Linked DNA regions of Homo sapiens: region 2 is linked to region 1. The links are contacts of gene promoters, found by promoter capture Hi-C in blood cells and fetal thymus (Javierre and others, 2016). All regions are on one chromosome and are shown on one strand. The core of a region is centred on a gene start or on the middle of the fragment in contact, and the rest is flanking DNA. Distances in the headings are between cores, read along the strand shown.

Region 1 (3,877 bases), core at 1,378-3,877:
GAATTACAGGTGCCCACCACCATACCCAGCTAATTTTTGTATTTTCAGTAGAGACCGGGTTTCACCATATTGGCCAGGCTGGTCTCAAACTCCTAACCTCAGGTGATCTGCCAGCCTCGGCCTCCTAAAGTGCTGGGATTACAGGCGTGAGCCACCATGCCTGGCCATATGTAAATTAGCATGTACTACGATCTAATAAAAATTTTCCAAAGCTAACTGAATGTCAGAATATTACCCAGTGTATTGATTCTCCAGGGGTGGGGCTCAGCAGATTCTGACGCCAATTCAAACTGCCTGCTGCTACCGGGGAACTGCTGAGAATAAAATTAGCCATCTCGTGCTGGGCGCAGTGGCTCATGCCTGTAATCACCGCACTTTGGGAGGCCGAGGCGGGCAGATCACAAGGTCAGGAGATTGAGACAATCCTGGCCAACATAGTGAAACTACATCTCTATTAAAATACAAAAATTAGCCGGGCGTGGTGGCGCGTGCCTGTAATCCCAGCTACTCAGGAGGCTGAGGCAGGAGAATCCCTTGAACCAGGTAGTTGTAGGATGCAGTGAGCCAAGATCGCGCCACAGCACTCCAGCCTGGCGACAGAGACTCCATCTCAAAAAAAAAAAAAAAAAAATTAGCCACCTCGAATCAATTACAATAATTTATTTACCTTTTTCTTTTTTTAAAGACAAGATATCTCTTTGTTACCTAGGCTGGAGTGCAGTGGAACTTGGCTCACTAGAGCCTTTACCTCCTGGGCTCAAGCAATCCTCCCATCTCAGCCTGTCCGGTAGCTAGGACCACAGGTATGCACCACCATGCCCTGGTTAATTTTTGTAGAGACGGGGTTTGGCTATGTTGCTTAGGCTAAGCTCAAACTCCTGAGCTCAAGCGATCTCCCCACCTCCACCTCCCAAAGTGCTGGGATTTACAGGCATGAGCCACCCACCTGGCCTATTTGCTTTAACTTATAAAGATTTAAAAACTGTTCATGGCCACGTGTGGTGGCTCGCGCGTGTAATCCCAGCAATTTGGGAGGAGAAGGCGGGAGGATCGCTTAAGCGCAGGAGTTCGAGACCAGCCTGGCCAACATAATGAGACTCTGTCTCAAACAAAAACAAAAACAAGAACAAAAACAAAACTGTTCATGTTAAAATTAAGCAGTCTGAAAATTACCTCTACTGACCCCTTGCGCCCTTCCCTAGAGATAACCACTGTAAACCAGTTTCCTTTCCCAAAGAAACCCTATTTATGTTTGCATGTAAATGTACATATATGTACATACTCTTTGTTATATAAATACAACACATATTCCCTTTTACATAAATGACAATACTATATACATTGTTCTTTACCTTCCCCTTCTGATACCTATTAAAATTACATTTCAAGATCATCAAATTCATAATTTTCAGCTATTCAGATTTAACATCCCTGAAATTAAACTTAAGCATAAAGATAACAGGGATAATCCAGTTCCCATACCCAGGAGAATAACGGTCACCTCAAGTCCACTATAATACACCAAGTCTGAACCCTGGACTCAACATGTTTTCAATAAAATGTTCACTTTAAAGTTTTGACAATGACTTAATAACCAGGGCACTATGTTTGATCCATGCAAAAAGATGTAAAATCTTCCGCTTAAGGAATCTAAAATTCTAAACGTTATTTGTGGGGTGGTTAATCTGCACCTCTCAGAAACAGACATGTCTTGTGCGCTGCCAACAATTTTACCTTTGGGTGAATGATGTAACTTTACTGTTCCCACAAAGAGTCTTAATTTTTCTGTACCTTGCAATAAAATCTACATGCATTAGATTTTTCCACGAATGGCCTACAATTTGATAAACACTTTCAGGACTAAACGGCTAGCAAAAATATTCGTTAAAGTCGTTATGCAGCATTTTAATTCCCTTCACTGATAACATGCACCCTGAGTATGGCTTCAAAGACCCACTCCTACGCGAGAAACGACCCGAAATGCTCTATATGCCTTCCTTTTAAGGGGCGGGGGGATCCTTTGATGTAACTCAACAAAAGCATACAGCAATTTCGTCACGTCACAAACATCTGAACTCGTTTACCGAAATCTAATCTGAGGCGTTTATCAGAAGCAAAGAAAAAATAAAATACGGCCCACGGAGGCCTAAGGAGTGAGGCATCCACCATTAATGACTCTACCGGGAAGCAGATATGGCCTTACGTTATTTCGCTAAAAATCCCAAGGCCAACCCTGCCAAAGAATCAACAACCCATTTTACAAACGAAATACCAGATTCAGAAAGACTAAGCAGGTTGCCAAGCTGGAGAGCTGGATCTGCCGACCTCTCTCCACCCCCCCCCGCCCCCCCCCGGAGCCTCAGGCCAACGGAATTAACGTTCCGCGTCCCCTCCCTCGCCTCCCGCAACGCCCGCGAGGGTCGGCTCCCGGGGCGCTGACAACCGCCTCGTGGCCCTCGGCCGGCCTCTGAAGAGGGCAGTGAGGGGCCCCCACCTGGGCGCCCGATGCCCAGAGCACTCTGCGCCCCCAGCCTGCCCCAGCCCAGTCCCTCCCGGCCGCGCGCCCTGACCGGTGAGCAGGATGTTCGGAAGCAACATGGTCCCCGCCGCGACGGCTTCGGGCGCCTCGCTCACGTGCCCTTTGCTCTACAGGGAGGAGCCGGAAGGGGCGGGCGGCAGCAAAAGCCCACGGCCCCAAAGGCCCCGAAGCCCACCGCGGCGCCCCTAGCCTGCCCCGGCGGCCCAGCCGCGGCCCACTGGTTACCTGGCTTTCGATGACACATTTCCGTCGCAAAGTTGGAGGGTGGGCATAACTCGGGTCGGTACTTCGGGTCAGGCAGTGCGCTGGATGCCTAAGTCACACACTCCTTCGGTGGTCCCCGCCCTTCGCTTGCGCCGACCAGTCTGGAAGGTCCCCGGGAGGCCGTACCTCCGAGAGGCTCGGCGTTGAGCCCGGGTAGGGCCAGGTGGCTGCCCTTTCACCTAGGGTAGTCCCTGGTCGCCTCCGCTCTTCGCCTAAAAGGGGATGCAGCTCCGGGAAAGTAAGGCCGCCGCGGTTGCGGCTATATTATGTATATGTCTTAGAGACGTGAGTCTATCTCTGCCTTCAAGCTTTCCTGGGCTCTCGTCGCTCCTCCTCCCGACCCGCCCATCCCATCTGGGGATGAGAAGATTGAGGGTGCAGAGCCCTGTCCTGCAGCGGGGATTTGCGAGCTCAACCCGGCACCCCACTGATTACAGGATTACGTTGGACGAATATTTGAGCTTAGTATTCCCTGTTCACTGTGTGGGGTGGTGGTGGGTCGGCTAGGAATAGTCTTGAAGGTCTACCTCTGACATCTCATTTCAGTAACCTCGCATCTTCAGGGACAGTTATCTGCTTTTTAAAGGAGGTAATTGTCAATCTTGTTTTCAAGAGTGAATAGAGACCTGACCGTGACAACAGTCTGCACCTTTTTTTGTTTGTTTGTTTGTTTTTGTTTTGTTTTGAGACGGAGTCTCACTCTTGTCGCCCAGGCTGGAGTGCAACCTCCGCCTCCTGGGTTCAAGTGATTCTCCTGCCTTAGCCTCCAGAGTAGCTGGGATTACAGGCGCCCACCACCACGCCCGGCTAATTTTTGCATTTTTAATAGAGACGGGGTTTCACCATGTTTTGGCCAGGCTGGTCTCAAACTCCTGACCTCAGATGATCCGCCCGCCTCGTCCTCCCACGGTGCTGGGATTACAGGCATGAGCCACCGCGTCCGGCCCCTGGTCTGCATCTTTTATTTCGAGCTACAAACTATATTTACTCAAATAGGTGTTTTTTTTCCACCTGTATACCTTTTGAAACGTCACAGTCTCTAATCGTGAACGATTTGGGGCGGAGGGCTGAACA
Region 2 (5,905 bases), core at 1-2,500, 2.9 Mb after region 1:
ACGGTGGAACTGGCAGCGGCCCTGGCTGGCTGCTGAGAGCGCGGAACGGGGCGGCGTTCTGACGTTCGCGCCGGGGCCCTCTGGACGCACCGCGGGCGCAGGTCCTAGACAGCTGCATTGGCGTCCACCGCGGCCCCGGCGCTGGGAAACTGCCCTCACGCTAGGGCCCTCCCCGAGGAGCTCTCTGGCACAATCAGCCACGAGGACGAAGAGAGGGGGCACCGGAACCGCAAGCCCACTCCGAGAGGCCAGAACCTCTCTCTCGCCGTACTCCCCGGCAGGGCACGGCTCAGGGGAGACGGCGCTCTGGCACATGAAGCCCACACCCACACGCCGCAGTGTCCCTTGCTGCCTCGATCTCCAATGGGGATGGGAGCGGCGAAAGCCTCATATCGGCCCTCCTCCGTCCCCCAATCAGCGAGCCCGCTTTGAGCACCTCACGGCCCTCCGGCTGGCGGCGCCCAATCACAGCGCTCCACATGCTGGGCGCGGCCCTGCGCGCGCACGCTACCCGACAGCCCCGCGCCCACTCGCCGCGTTCCACCCGCGGGGCGGCGGATTCCCGCAGGGGCCACACTGCCACCTACTGTCCCATCTCCAGAGCTGGAGCCACGGGCGCTCTCCCTACCATGCGGCCTCCCTGCTAAGTGCCAGTAGCTCAACCCAAACGCTCAAATAAAAATGAGGGAAAACAAGTAGTGTCGTCGAGTAAAACCGAAAACAATGTCCATTTTGAAAAAAGCGGCAATAATTACCTTCCAGTACACAGTAGGAAAAAGTCTCAAAAGCTTTCTTTGTTCCAAGCAGTGTGAGTTCCAAAACATTATTTCACCTCACACGTTTTATAGAGGGCTAAAAACAAGGGGCTTAGGGACTCCTCAGTGCACATATTTCTGAAGCACCTGCATGTCAGACGGAGAGGCAGGCATTACCATCATCTCTAATTTATAGGCACAGAAACCGAGTGTGACAGCTGAAAGCCGCAGAACTGGGACTGACACCCAGAAGTCGGCCTCCCAAGTGCAGACTTCAGCACATCATACACAAGGAAGGCACAAAGTGCTGAAAGAATATAGGGCAGGAAACATCGATTCTGACTGGAGAGATTCAGGATATACAAAGATATTCTAGGCAGAGGGGACAGCTGTCTCGGTGGCAGGAAAAATTCAGTAAATGGTGGCTAGTACTGCTTTTCCAAGAAAACTAGTCTTAACTGAGGAAAGGGAACAAATGTCTCTATGTGATATTTACTCATTGCAGACTTTTTTTTTTTTGAGACAGAGTCAGCTCTGTCGCCCAGGCTGTAGTGCAGCGGCGTGATCTCTGGCTCACTGCAACCTCTGCCTCCCGGGTTCGAGCGATTCTCCTGCTTCAGCCTCCATTGTAGCTGGGATTACAGGTGTGCGCCACCACGCCCGGCTATTTTGTAATTTTAGTAGAGGCGGGGTTTCACCATGTTGTCCAGGCTGGTCTTGAACTCCTGACTTGATCTGCCTACCTCAGCCTCCCAAAGTGCTGGGATTATAGGCGTGTGCCACTGCGTGCTGCCCCGCTGCAGATTATTATACTCATTATTTGGCAAACAGTTACTGCTTACTCAGGTATCCATGACAATGTTCCCTGGATTTGTGTGACTGACTATACCCAACACCAAGACACCAAACCTAGTGGCCTCATTTCCTAATCTTCCCTACATACCTAGGAAAGTGTTAATAAGCTTTCCTGGAATTCGTCATTCCCTTATCTGTACTTCACTGCACTTTGCTTATAATTCACATATGGCACATCCGAACACGCCTTGCTGTATAACTATGAGTCCATACTGGTCTGATCACTAGAACAGTATAGTATTGGCCCTACAGAGCATTTTAGGATATGTGGAAGTTGGTCTTGATTGTCACAATGACTGAAAGGCATTACTGGCACTTAATGGACAGAAAACAGGGAATTCAGATGACCTGCAATGCTGAGACTGTCCCGTACATCAAAACACTGTCTCTAGTGGGAGCCAGGGCTGTCAGTATGGAAGACGGGAGATACAAATATGGACTGGAGCAAGGCAAGAAGAATCCCATAGGGATGAACTTGGGATTGGTGTGAACTCATTATCTGCAAAATATATATAGTATATGTATATGCATATGTGTACATGTATGTTTATGTGTATGTGCATTCATTTTTTTTCCAGAACTGTTCACTGAATGGGCCAAGAAGCAAAAATTTCACAGTAGCAAAAGGACACCTAGCACCTAGATCTTGGTTTCTAATGCCATTCCTCACCAAAAGTAACCAGAGCTCCTTGGAGAAATGGTTGATTCCAGGGCTAGGCCAGGAAGGGTACACAGTGAGCCTGAAACACCTTGTTATATGAGAGAAAGTAAGTTATCAAAAAAGAGGGGGGTGGGGGAAAATGGAAGCCAGCTTGAAAGGGCTTCTATCAGCCAAGTCTGGGATATTTAGACCACCAAAATAATTGAGAAGGGTAATGAATCATTTAAAAAATTCACAAATTGATGATTTAAACATAATGCATGATAATAAACAGATAAATGAGAAAGAAATGAGAGAAAAGGAAGAGTTCTTGCTTATAGTAGAATACTGAGTGTTAGCTAGTAAATCTGGAGAAATTTTCAGAGTTGGAAAATCATTACTTTGCAACCATTATAGTAAAGATTGATTCAGGCTAAAGCCATGAATGGATGCCAAATCTAAGAGCAAACTTTTGATAAACAACATATTTGCATTACATTAAAGTCTCTCTCCGAGAATAGCCTATTAATCAGAAGGGAGAAAAACAGTAACTCTGCAGTGGAGAAATCAGACACAGTTGACTAGGTGATCAAAACTGACATCACCAGTGAAGGCATATGATATCAGGTATGTCCACATGTGATACCCTGGCAGGGGCACAACATCACTGAGAGTATTCTGGCTGGGGAAGCATAACAATGAGAAAATAGCAGAAAAATCCAAGAAAGAGGAATATTCTATTTAAAAAAAGAGATTGGGTTCTTTAAAAATATATAGGACAATGTCATAAGAAACAAAGAAAGGATAAGGAACTATGATTCTAGACAGCATCCTGTACTGGAAGAGGAAAAATGCTATGAGAGACCCTATTATTGGGTCAATTCCCAAAACTGGGATATGAATAGTAAAGTATTATATTAATGTCAAAATTTCCGAAGTTGGTAACTGTGCTATGATTATACAATAGAATGTCCTTATCTCAGGTAATGTACATTGAAGTATTCAGGATAAAGAGCTATAATATATGAAACAAACTCCCAAATGATTAAAGAAAGTGTGTATACAGGGGGAAGGAGGAGAGAGAAAGCAAAAACAAATGAATCAAAATGGTAACGACAGGTGAACATGAGTAAAAGTAGCGCTGTGGTTTAAATATTTGTCTCCTCTGAAACTCATGTTGAAATTTAATCCCCAGTGTAACAGTTTTGAGAGGCCAGTGGATCATAAGGGCTCTCCTCTGATGAATGAATTAATCCATTCATGGACTAATGGGTTAATGGATTGATGGGTTATCACGGAAGTGGGACTGGTGGCTTCATAAGAGGAAGAGAGACCTGAGCTAGCATGCTCAGCCCCCTCGCCATGTGATGCTCTGAGCCACCTCAGGACTCTGAATAGTCCTCACCAGCAGGAAGGCTCTCACCAGATGCCACCCCTCAACGCTGGCCTTCTCAGACTCTCTAACTGTAAGAAATAAATTCGTTTTCTTGATAAATGATCCAGTTTCAGGTATTGTTATAAACAACAGAAAACAAACTAAGACAGATATAGAGGAGTTCTTTGCAGTTTTTATAAGTTTAAAATTATTTCCCGCTGGGCGCGGTGGCTCAAGCCTGTAATCCCAGCACTTTGGGAGGCTGAGGTGGGCAGATCACCTGACACCAGGAGTTCAAGACCAGCCTGGCCAATAGGCAAAACCCTGTCTCTATTAAAAATGCAAACATTAGCTGGGCGTGGTGGCGTGCGGCTGTAACCCCAGCTACTCAGGAGGTGGAGGCAGGAGAATCGCTTGAACCCAGGAGGCGGAGGTTGCAGTGAGCCGAGATGACGCCACTGCATTCCAGCCTGGGCGATAGATAGTACAGACTCTGTCTCAACAACAATGACAATAACAACAACAAAATTATTTCCAAATTAAAAGATTAAAAAAATTTGCCATGTCATTTGTGACATAATTATACCATCAAAAACAACCTGTTTATCATTAATGGAACTAACTCCATTTTTCATATAAGCAAAGTTTTTTTAATGGAAAATAAGGTGAATTTTGCAACTCTATATTGAGGGAAGACATACCTTTGAATCAATCAGAACTTTACCAAGAGTTGTTCATTCTATAAATAAAATTATGTCATTATGATAGCGCCACTCCTGGTATTTGAATTTGCCAGTATACCGCATCTCTACCCATCTACACTTCTTCCATGTCTATAATTATTCCACATTTATATGCAATATTTACCTGCTTCATTGTTTCTTACTGTAGTTTTGCCTGGACATTTGTTTACAAATTGAAATACATATTGTTTAAGTTACTTCCCCTTTGTTTCTCCTCTGTATCGTGGCGAAGGAATCATACTGATTTTTTTTTTTTTTTTTGAGATGGAGTCTTGCTCTGTTGCCCAGGCTAGAGTGTAGTGGCAAGATCTCGGCTCACTGCAACCTCTGCCTCCCGGGTTCAAGCGATTCTCCTGCCTCAGCCTCCGGAGTAGCTGGGATTACAGATGCCTGCCACTGCGCCCGGCTAATTTTTGTATTTTTTAACAGACGGGGTTTCATCATCTTGGCCAGGTTGGTCTCAAACTCCTGACCTCATGATCCACCAGCCTCAGCCTCCCAAAGTGCTGGGATTACAGGTGTGAGCCACCACACCCAGCCATATACTGGTTTTTAAAACAGTAAGTATAGATAGATTATATTAACTATGAATTTAGTTTCAAGATGGCAAAAGAAGAGTATGATAAAGTACTTGTTATAAGAAGGCTACCCTGGGCCTCTTATAGACAGAATGAGACTGTAAGTTTCTCATGGAGAAGCTGCGATTACTTATCTTCAGATCTTCCACAGCTCTGCTTCAGCTGGCCTGTGCACATACACCCATCTCAGAGCTCACAGCCAACTCTGCTTGTGCAATCACATCATCAGTAAAGAAAAGGATGAGATCTTTGAAAATCCCAATAAGGTAGCCATTAGAGACAGCAATGTCTCCTGCACTTATGGGAAAAATCCATAAACACAGGGGACTTTATTCTTAACTGACATAAGCCCAAAACACAGCTAAAGAAATCTGGGGGAATATATTAGATCAGCATAGGAATTGATCCAAAAATTACATCAGTCTCATAAAACTATCACCAATCTATTTATTTTATTAATGTTCCGATGATGTTATATATACCAAAGGGCAGGCAGTACCAAAAGTCTAAAGTATGCACATTTTTAAAAACTGCTCATTGAGTCAGTGATTTCTTTTGGGGCTTGGTATTTTACAAAAGAAAGGCTGTTGTCTGTGTAATATGACATAGGGAACAGGAGAAAAGAAAGTATAATTATAAGCCCAAAGCCTGGGAAGATGTTAACCAACTATTTCTCTAAACAGCTTACATGAGATTGTAACATTGCCTTCAAACCTGTCACCTGGTAATGAAATAGAGAAGAGTCAAAAAGGGCTCTGAAGACCACAAGAGGAGTTAAGAAAATAAAGAGACTGACAATAAGACAGGATGAAATATAAAATACGAAATTCTGTAAAACAGGCTGCATGAAAACCATATGGTAAAAATGGACAAAAAACAGAAGAAAGGAACTGTTTACATATTCTAAGGAGACTAATCATGGAGGCAAAAATGAAATATTAGAAATGAACAGGATAAAA

What was found. The method cuts DNA at HindIII sites, captures the fragments that hold promoters and counts their contacts. A CHiCAGO score of 5 or more calls a contact.
Region 2: a contact is called between a fragment that was not itself captured here and the fragment with the promoter of TAF9 in region 1, in 7 of 17 cell types (naive CD8 T cells, total B cells, fetal thymus and 4 more). The highest score is 10.1, in naive CD8 T cells.

Annotation. Positions count from the first base shown.
Region 1 is chr5:69,366,893-69,370,769 of GRCh38, forward strand. It overlaps TAF9 (TATA-box binding protein associated factor 9), which reads right to left and starts at 2,628. Exons shown (of 3, transcript NM_003187.5): 1 at 2,571-2,628. AK6 (adenylate kinase 6) reads right to left here and starts at 2,628. Exons shown (of 5, transcript NM_016283.5): 1 at 2,571-2,628. The coding sequence starts at 2,598. RAD17 (RAD17 checkpoint clamp loader component) reads left to right here and starts at 2,926. Exons shown (of 19, transcript NM_133338.3): 1 at 2,926-3,041. RefSeq lists an enhancer at 3,180-3,729. The HindIII fragment of the contact is 4,867 bases long and covers 1-3,109 here.
Region 2 is chr5:72,308,010-72,313,914 of GRCh38, forward strand. All of the region lies in intron 2 of MRPS27 (mitochondrial ribosomal protein S27), which reads right to left. Among named protein-coding and RNA genes, the nearest start is that of MRPS27, 9.3 kb to the right of the region's middle. RefSeq lists enhancers at 103-352, 3,998-4,498 and a silencer at 403-692. The HindIII fragment of the contact is 929 bases long and covers 787-1,715 here.